3 separate regions of the Homo sapiens genome follow, and all the other regions are linked to region 3. The links are contacts of gene promoters, found by promoter capture Hi-C in blood cells and fetal thymus (Javierre and others, 2016). All regions are on one chromosome and are shown on one strand. Each heading gives the region's core, a stretch centred on a gene start or on the middle of the fragment in contact. The rest is flanking DNA. Distances are from core to core; before and after follow the strand shown.

Evidence for each region. Contacts are between HindIII fragments. The CHiCAGO score rates a contact against its expected background, and 5 or more counts as called.
Region 1: a fragment that was not itself captured here is called in contact with the fragment with the promoter of SPTLC2 in region 3 in 1 of 17 cell types (neutrophils); the score reaches 6.1 in neutrophils.
Region 2: a contact is called between a fragment that was not itself captured here and the fragment with the promoter of SPTLC2 in region 3, in 2 of 17 cell types (total CD8 T cells and naive CD8 T cells). The highest score is 6.1, in total CD8 T cells.

What each region holds. Positions count from the first base shown.
Region 1 is chr14:77,428,810-77,432,008 of GRCh38, reverse strand. VIPAS39 (VPS33B interacting protein, apical-basolateral polarity regulator, spe-39 homolog) reads left to right here. Exons shown (of 20, transcript NM_001193315.2): 17 at 2,242-2,328; 18 at 2,914-3,003. Among named protein-coding and RNA genes, the nearest start is that of NOXRED1, 6.9 kb to the right of the region's middle. The HindIII fragment of the contact is 6,466 bases long and covers 1-3,199 here.
Region 2 is chr14:77,765,951-77,768,962 of GRCh38, reverse strand. The region is part of intron 1 of SLIRP-OT1 (SLIRP overlapping transcript 1); the gene reads right to left. Among named protein-coding and RNA genes, the nearest start is that of SNW1, 6.3 kb to the right of the region's middle. The HindIII fragment of the contact is 2,692 bases long and covers 215-2,906 here.
Region 3 is chr14:77,615,377-77,618,167 of GRCh38, reverse strand. It overlaps SPTLC2 (serine palmitoyltransferase long chain base subunit 2), which reads left to right and starts at 1,531. Exons shown (of 12, transcript NM_004863.4): 1 at 1,531-1,720. The coding sequence starts at 1,589. RefSeq lists silencers at 1,105-1,164, 1,495-1,544, 1,685-1,884 and enhancers at 1,204-1,736, 2,065-2,274. The HindIII fragment of the contact is 6,254 bases long and covers 1-2,791 here.

The DNA.
Region 1 (3,199 bases), core at 111-2,610, 190 kb after region 3:
ATGTATGTATATATATACCATAGTTCCATAGTTTCTGTATCCATTTGTTTGTCAATGGACACTTAAGTTGTTTCCTTATCTTGGCTATTTTTTAGGGAGAGGGAATTATTTATTTGTTTATTATTTTTGTAAGTTACAGATATTTAAATTCTCAGCAATAATTTATAATAGTTACATTTCATGAATAGTTAACATCTCATGAATAGTGTTACAATGAATGTGGAAATGCAAGTATCTTTATGAGGTGATGATTTCATTTATTTTGGGCATATACCCAAAAGAAAGATTGATTACTGGGTCATATGATAGTTCTATTTTTATTTTTATTTTTACTTTTTTGAGAGAGGGTCTCACTCTGTCACCCAGGCTGAAGTGCAGTGGCATGACCGTAGCTCACTGCAGCCTGTTTTCCACATTGGCTACACCAATCTACATTCCCACCGACAGGGTACAAGAGTTCCCTTTCCCCACACCCTTGCTAACACATCATTTGTCTTTTTGATAACAGTCATCTTAACAGGTGTGAGGTGATATCTTATTATAGTTTTGATTTGCATTTCCCTGATGTTTAGTGATACTGATCACCTTTTCATGTACTTCTTGGCCATTTCCATGTCTTCTTTGGAGAAATGTCCATTCAAGTCTTTTGCCCATTTTTAAATCTGGCAATTTTTGTTTCTGCTATTGCATTGTGTGAGTTCTTTATATGTTTTAGATACTAATCCCTTATCAGATATGTGGTTTACAAATATTCTAATCCATAGGCTGCCTTTCATTTTGATTGTTTCCTTTGCCATGCGCAGCTTTTTAGTTTGATGTAATCCCATTTATTTTTGCTTTTGTAGCCTGAGCCTTTGGTGTGATATCCAAAAAAATCATTGCCAAGGCCAATGTCAAGGAGCTTTTTCCCATGTTTTCTTCTATGAGTTTTATGGCTTCAGGTCTTATGCTTAGGTATATTATCCATTTTGAGTTGATTTTTGTGTATGGTGTAAGATAAAGGTCTAATTTCATTCTTTTGCATGTGGAAATCCAGTTTTCCCAGCACCACTCATTGAAGAGACTATCCTTTCCCCATTGGGTCCTCTTGGTGCTTTTGTTGAAAATTAGCTGACCATATATGCTTGGGTTTATTTCTAGGCTCTCTATTCTATTCCACTGGTCTATGTGTTTGTTTTTATGCCAGCCCCGTACTGTTTTGATTAATATATGTAACTTTGTAATATAATTTGAAATCATGAAGCATGTTGCCTCCTACCCCTACCCCCCCTTTTTTTTTTTTTTTCTTTTTTGAGACAGAGTCTTGCTCTGTCACCCAGGCTGGAGTGCAGTGGTGCAATCTCAGCTCACTGCAACCTCTGCCTCCAGGGTTCCACTGAATCTCCTGCCTCAACCTCCCGAGTAGCTGGGATTAAAGGCATGCGCCACCCTGCCCGGCTAATTTTTGTATTTTTAGTAAAGATGGGGTTTCACCATGTTGGCCAGGCTGGTCTCGAACTCCTGGCCTCAAGTGATCCGCCCACCTCGGCCTCCAAAAGTGCTGGGATTACAGACATGAGCCACCGCACCTGGCCTCCATTTTGTTTTTCTTTAACATTGATTGCTTTGGCTATGTGGGATCTTTGGCGGTTCAATATGAATTAGTTTACGTTTTAAATATCTGTTTTTCCATTATGGGTTTAAAAATTTTCTGTTTTTCCTATTTGTTAATTATTTAATTAGTTATATTAACAAAGCAATATGTGTCTGTTGTCAAAATCAAACACTGTATTAAAGTATAGAAAGAGTGAAGTTCCTTTTTCATTTTCTACCTACTCCTATCTCACCCCCTTTCTCAAGGCAAACACTGTTAAAAGTTTAATGGGTAGCTTTCCAGACCTTCCCTCATGAATTTGCAAATAAACATCTGTACTTACAAAGATATGGAAGATGGAATTATTTTCTACATTGATAAGTTCATACTACAAATATTAAGTAAGTTACTTATCCCATTTAGTAGTATTTCAAGACTTTTCCCTGCATTCGTTTCTATAGATCTAAGAAGTTATTTCAAACCTGATTCATTTCCACTCTCTCAAATCCCTTGATTTTTCTGAAAAATTCATTTCTCATTATTTCTGTATCCCTCAGCACCCCCACTCACCCACCACATTATTCTGGTCTGATCGTAAAACATAGACTAACCTAGAATGTGTTGAGTGTGCCTGGCCTACCTGCCGCTACCCCATCTTCCTCTTTCAGAACTGGCTGGGCTATACCAAGAAGAGAGCACCCATTGGCTTCCATCGGGTTGTCGAAATTTTGCACAAGAACAATGCCCCTGTGCAGGTAATGGGTCCTGAAGAGAGTTGGGTACAGGATATTCTTGGAGACCTAACTTTAAGCCTCTTACTGGTCAGTGATGGGAGACCCGATCTGCTCTTGTTTTCCCTTAAAGGCAGCACAATGGCTGCAATAGGCCTCAAGACAGAAAAGGCCAGGGAGTGAAATTCTCTCCCTTTCTCCCCTTTAGAAACAATTCCAAACTGTCCTCTCTGAGTAGCATCTACTGTGTTAGCCCAAGTGGAATACTGATGTACTGTTCAAATGATAGAAAAGGAGAACTCGTGGAGAAAAGACATCAGGGAGAAATGAGCAGAGCACTGGATCACAGCTAGAGCACTCATTGCTGGCATGTGTATCTGGCTCGAGGATCAGGAGAAGTGTGCTCTTTCCTGCTTACTGAGGCAGCATGGAAGTACTGTGTAGCGTTACCTCATTCCCATTGCAGAACTAGTCCTGTGGTTGATGATGGAAACTGGAAACATTAGCTATTGAACTCTTTTGCCTTCTTCAGGACTTTCTTTTCTACCTTGTAGAGCTCTGTGCCTTATGGGTGTTTGAATCATTAATCGGAAGTACCTCTTCCCACAGATATTACAGGAGTATGTCAATCTGGTGGAAGATGTGGACACGAAGTTGAACTTAGCCACTAAGTTCAAGTGCCATGATGTCGTCATTGATGTGAGTCCCCAAGAAATGGGAGTCCTCCGTTAGATCCTCAGTGGCGAAGCAGGGTGGGGATTATAATATTCTCTGTCCAAGATCCTGAGGTGCTCCCACCAGGTTTGACTGAATGGACAGAATAATCTGGCAAGAGTTTGTTTGGAGACCAGCACTCCTGTATTATTTTCCCAGCCCTCTGACTGCTTTCTCTGTG
Region 2 (3,012 bases), core at 311-2,810, 150 kb before region 3:
GGCATATTCTGGTGGAATATCTTGTTACTGGAGAAGAGAGGGAAGAAATGTAGGCAGTCACTTCAGCTATCAGATGGCTGCCTTCTGGGCCAACAGCACATTTGATAGGAATGAAAATGATCAAAACAAATGACAGGGCTCAGGGCAAGGGGCAAACTGTTCCCCTGCCAGGCTGTTTGATAGAAAAAGGAATGGTTTTCTTAGTTCTAAAGCTTCAACCACACTGGATCCTTGTGTTTTCACAACCCTTAAGGTTAGAGCCAACTTTCAAAAAGAATAATTAAATCGGGAAAGAAGTGGGGTCAGCAGGTTTCGTAGTGCTTTTAAACAGGAAGTCTCAGAACTCATGGAGGGAAGTAGCTGACAGCAAAACTGCTTTCCTACTCATCAACCCAAAGAACTGCTTAATTCCAGAAGAAGATAGAGGAGCACATCTCACCAAAGACAAGTTGACCCTAACTCTTAAATCATCTACAGCCAAAAAACTGATTCTGTACCTGGTTGATCATGCCTGTAAAAAATAAAAAATAAAAATTAAAAAAATTGATTCTGCCTATAAAATGACTGACATGTTTCAGAACATTTTTGACTTACTTAATAAAAATTACTGTTCTATTTAGTAATCATATAAAAACAGAGATTGCATTCATGATTTTAAAAATGAAATACCAAAATTAATATCCTGAAAGATGTGTACAATCTATATAAAGACAACTTCAAAATGTTATTGAAAGATATGAAGGAAGATTTTAATAAGTTAAAATCTAAACAGTGTTCCTGGCCAAAAGCAGTGGCTCACGCCTGTAATCCCAACAGTTTGGGAGCCCAAGGCAGGCAGATCACTTGAGTTCAGGGGTTCGAGACCAGCCTGGCCAACATGGCGAAACCCCGTCTCTACTAAAAATACAAAAATTAGCCAGGTGTGATGGTGCATGCCCGTAATCTCAGCTACTCAGGAGGCTGAGGCAGGAGAATCTCTTGAACCCAGGAGGCAGAGGTTGTAGGGAGCCAAGATCGTCCACTGCACTCCAGCCCAGGCAACAGAGCAAGACTCCAACTCAAAAACCAAAACCAAAACCAGTGTTCTTGAGTGAGAAGACATAAAATTGTAAAGATATTGGCTCTCTCAAAATTAATTTATGGACAATTCAACGCCAATCAAAATGCCTACAGATATTTTTCAATAGAATGCACAAAATAATTCTAAATTTCATTTGGAAAAAAATGAAGAGATACTATATTATACTTTTTATTCACTTATTCATTTTATTACTTTTGCATTTTACTTAACTTTGCTTCTACAGCTTTATTGAAATGTAGTTCACGCACCATAAAATCACCTTATTAAAGTATGCAGATTAGAGGCGTTTAGTATATTCAAAGTTGAACAACCGTCACCACTAATTTTTCAACCCTCCCCCAAAAGAAACTCATACCCATTAACAATTATTGACCTTTCCTAACACCCCCACAGGATTTGTTTATTCTGAACATTTTATATAAAGGTAATAATACAATATCTGGTCTTTTGTGACAGGCTTCTTTCATTTAGCATAATGTTTTCAAGGCTTCTGTAGTAACAAATTTAACCTTGTCCAAAGAGAGATCTGGCTTTTGTCCTTAGCTTCTTGGAAGTAATCTCTAAACTCCTGAAATGTCATGCCTAATAGGAATGTCTTTGTTTGCCTGAAGGTCTTGGGACTTTTCACTTTCTTTCTTTTTTTTTTTTTTTTTTTTTAGACGGAGTCTCGCTCTGTTGCCCAGGCTGGAGTGCAGTGGCACAATCTTGGCTCACTACAAGTTCTGCCTCCTGGGTTCACGCCACTCTCCTGCCTCAGCCTTCTGAGTAGCTGGGACTACAGGTGCCCGCCACTACACCCGGCTAATTTTTGTATTTTTAGTAGAGATGGGGTTTCACCATGTTAGCCAGGATCGTCTCGATCTCCTGACCTCGTGATCCGCCTGCCTCGGCCTCCCAAAGTGCTGGGATTACAGGCGTGAGCCACCATGCCCGGCCCTTCACTTTCTTGATGATGTCCTTTGAAGCACAAAACCTTAACTTTTGATTTAGTCCAATTTTTCTATTTTTTCCTTTGTTGTTTATGCTTTTTGTATCTTATCTAAGAATTCTTTGCCAAATCCAAGATCATGAAGATTGACCCCTGTGTTTTCTTCTAAGAGTTTTATAGTTTTAGTTTTCACATTTAGGTCTTTGAGTTATTTTGAGTTAATTTTTGTATAGGGCGTGAAGCAAGGGTCCAACTGCATTCTTTTGCATTTAGACATACAGTTTCCCAGCACCATTTGTTGAAAAAACTATGTCAATAATAGTTTTAGATGGTCTTGGTACCCTTGTCAAAAATCAGTTCACCATAAACATATGGGTTTATTTCAGGACTCTCAATTTTATTCCATTGATCTATGAATCTATCCTTATGCCAGTACCACACTGTCTTGATTACTGCAGCTTTGTAGTAGGTTTCTGAAATTGGGAAATGTGAGTTCTACAACTTTCCTCTTCTTAAATTTTTATTATAAAAATTTTCAGGGCTGGGTGCAGTGGCTTACATCACTTTGGGATGCCAGGCAGGAGGATCACTTCAGTCCGGGAGTTCAAGACCAGCCTGGGCAACATAGTGAGACCCTGTCTCTACAAAAAATAAATTAGCCAGGCCTGGTGGCACATGCCTGTAGTCCTAGCTACTTGGGAGGCTGAGGTAGGAGTATCGCTTGAGCCTGGGAGATTCGGGCTGTAGTGAGCCGTGATCATACCACTGAACTCCAGCTTGAGCAACAGAGTGAGACCCTGTCTCAAAAAAAAAAAAGAGATAATTTTCATATATATATAAAAGTTGAAACAATAGTTCAATAAACACCTATACAGTCCACACTCCCCCATCTAAGCTTAAATAATTGTTAACATTTTGCTTTCCCTTTCATGCTCTCTCACACTCTCTCACTATAAACACACACACACACACATTTTTTGTTGTTGAGATAAACTATTTGAAA
Region 3 (2,791 bases), core at 282-2,781:
TCTATGTGTATATCTTGTCTCTCACTGAAATGTAAGCTCCATGAAGCACAGCCACATGTTTCCTTTTTAGCCTTATACATACAGATGTATATTCACTTTGGGATCAATAGTGTTTGTCAACTCAAATAGGATGTGTGGGATGAATGATCCCACCTTCTGTTAGATTATTCAGCTCCTAAGTCATGCAAAACCAATACCTTGTGGACCTCCTTTCTAAAGCTCCTGCAGGGTGGGGAAAGAATGCACGGATTCTCATAGGTGCATTTAGCAATTACTAGTAACCAACACTTAATGAATGCTTACTAATTGCTAGGTCCTGTACAAAATACATTACATACATAAACTTATTCAATCTTCACGACAACTATTATTGTCCCCACTGAACAGATGAAGACACATAGAGGTCACTCAGCTAGTAAGTGGCGCAGCTAGGATTTAAAACCCAGACCGACTCCAGAGTCCATACTCTCAATTATGATACTAAATTCTTTATGGATAACAGAAAGTCTCTAATTGTAATGTAGATCAATTTCCTTGCTTTCTAACCCCATGGGAAGATGGAACTAAAAGGGTGAGAAAATAATATTTATTATACTCCTACTATAAGCCTAGTATTATAAGAGGTGCATAATGGGTTAATGATATAATTCTTGCTGTAAGTCTATGAAGCAGGAAGTATTAACTCCATTTTAAAGAATTTGGCTTCTAAAGTGGTTAAACACAGTGCTCAAGTTTTAGCTTCCAGTTATTGGCAGAGTTGGAATTAGACCAGGTTTTCTAACTTTGAAGGAAAGACTTAATTTAAAGGAGACTGTATAGAAAACCCTGCCAAGGGCAAATGTGAAGGGCACGTGAAAAGGCATCTGAATTATTACTTATAATAATTCAGAAATAGTGAATGTGTGGCGCATATTGAAGAATGATGAGAGATTGTCAAAAAATCTATTCTATAAACACTCACAGAGGAATCAGCTAATTAAATAAGCGAGCTGCCTGTCTTGGGCTAGGACATAAACTCCAAAACTTCCCACGAGGCAAGGGCAAAGAGGGCGCCACCTGTCCTGGAGAACCTGGGAACCCGCTCTAGAGACTTCGGCTCAGCCCCTTTTATTTCCTCACACTCTAATTGGCTACTTTTCCCTGGGCTCCGCCTCCTCCTCGGTCTGGACCATTAAACAGGCAAGCCCTACCCCGGACCTGGATGCGGCCTCCAATCAGGTGCCAGGCCCTGGAGTCCCTCTAGAGAAGCCCCCTCTCCACCGGCGAGGCGCTTTGCTCTCGTCCGTGATTGGCCAGGCAGCAGCATGGGGTCCGCCTCCTTCTCTTCCAGATTGGTCAGCGGTCCTCAGGACCACATCCCTCTCGGCAGGTCCCCGCCGCTTTTTCCCTTCGCTGCGTGGCCTTGGCCGAGACCGGTCCTCTGCGGAGAGGGCCCCGCCCTCTGTGAAGGCCCGCCCGGGAATTGGCGGCGGCGCTGCAGCCATTTCCGGTTTCGGGGAGGTGGGTGGGGTGCGGAGCGGGACTTGGAGCAGCCGCCGCCGCTGCCACCGCCTACAGAGCCTGCCTTGCGCCTGGTGCTGCCAGGAAGATGCGGCCGGAGCCCGGAGGCTGCTGCTGCCGCCGCACGGTGCGGGCGAATGGCTGCGTGGCGAACGGGGAAGTACGGAACGGGTACGTGAGGAGCAGCGCTGCAGCCGCAGCCGCAGCCGCCGCCGGCCAGGTACGAGGGGCCCGCGCGGCGGGGCCGGGGTGGCGGTGTGGACTGGCGGAGGGGCGGCCGGGCGGGGCGAGGTCTCCGGGCCATCCGCTGGGCAATCCGCGGGGCGGGCGCCGTTCGCAGGTGTGGGCGGCAGTGTCCGGCCGCTGGCCCGACCTCCACGAGCCTGGAGGCTCAAGGACGGCTCGGGGGCTCCCCACCTCTCCGCGCCTGGAGGTCTTACTCCCGGAGCTCTGGGTTCTGCTCAGAGCTCCGGGTACTTTTCTCTGCCCCATTCTGCCAGAAGTGTGTGCTGTCCCCAGGGGAAGCGATGAGGGGCCCTTCGGACTCCAGTGGGAGCCGCCCAAGGGCTCCGGAGGGTCCCTTCTCAAACCCCTGAGGTTATTGCTTCCTTTTAAAGTCCTGCAGTCGTCCAAAGAAAACCACCCATGGGGTCCTTAAGAAGCAAAGAAAATTAGGCGGTGGTGTCAGATGGAAACACACCCAGCCTCTCCCAACCACATTCTGGACTACCACGTTCAGTCCCCAACCAGGACATTGGTCCATAGATCTGGCAGGGAATCCAAGCTGGTCCCTCGAAAGCATCATTCTCTTAACTCTGCCGGTGGTGAGACTCTACCCCAGGCTCCAGGTTGGATTAGGTGGCCCCTTCGACCCTTTCCTGAACACGAGTGCTATCACACAAGGGGATTGTTTAGCCTGGTGGTGACTTGCGATGACTCTATACTAATTAACCATGCTGAATCATCAACCAAGTTCAGGCAGTTCTAAAATATTTTGAAAAGTTCTAAATTCAAGACAATGCTTATTATCAACCTTACAGTGGTCTGGACTGACAGATATTCTGTTGAAATGTGTTTTTAAAGATGAGCTGGTTAAAAAGATGCAAGATCGGTGTTCCTGGAAGAGAGTGTTGCGATAATTTTGCAGTTGACTTTAATACGTTTAAGTCTTGTACAGATATTAAGGAACGCTTAGAAAGTACTCTGTTTCCCTTTAGCGGGAGTGTGACTGTTGCAGTTTGATAGGATGGTGATCTTAATTTGGCTTTAACATAACTACTCCCCAGATGAG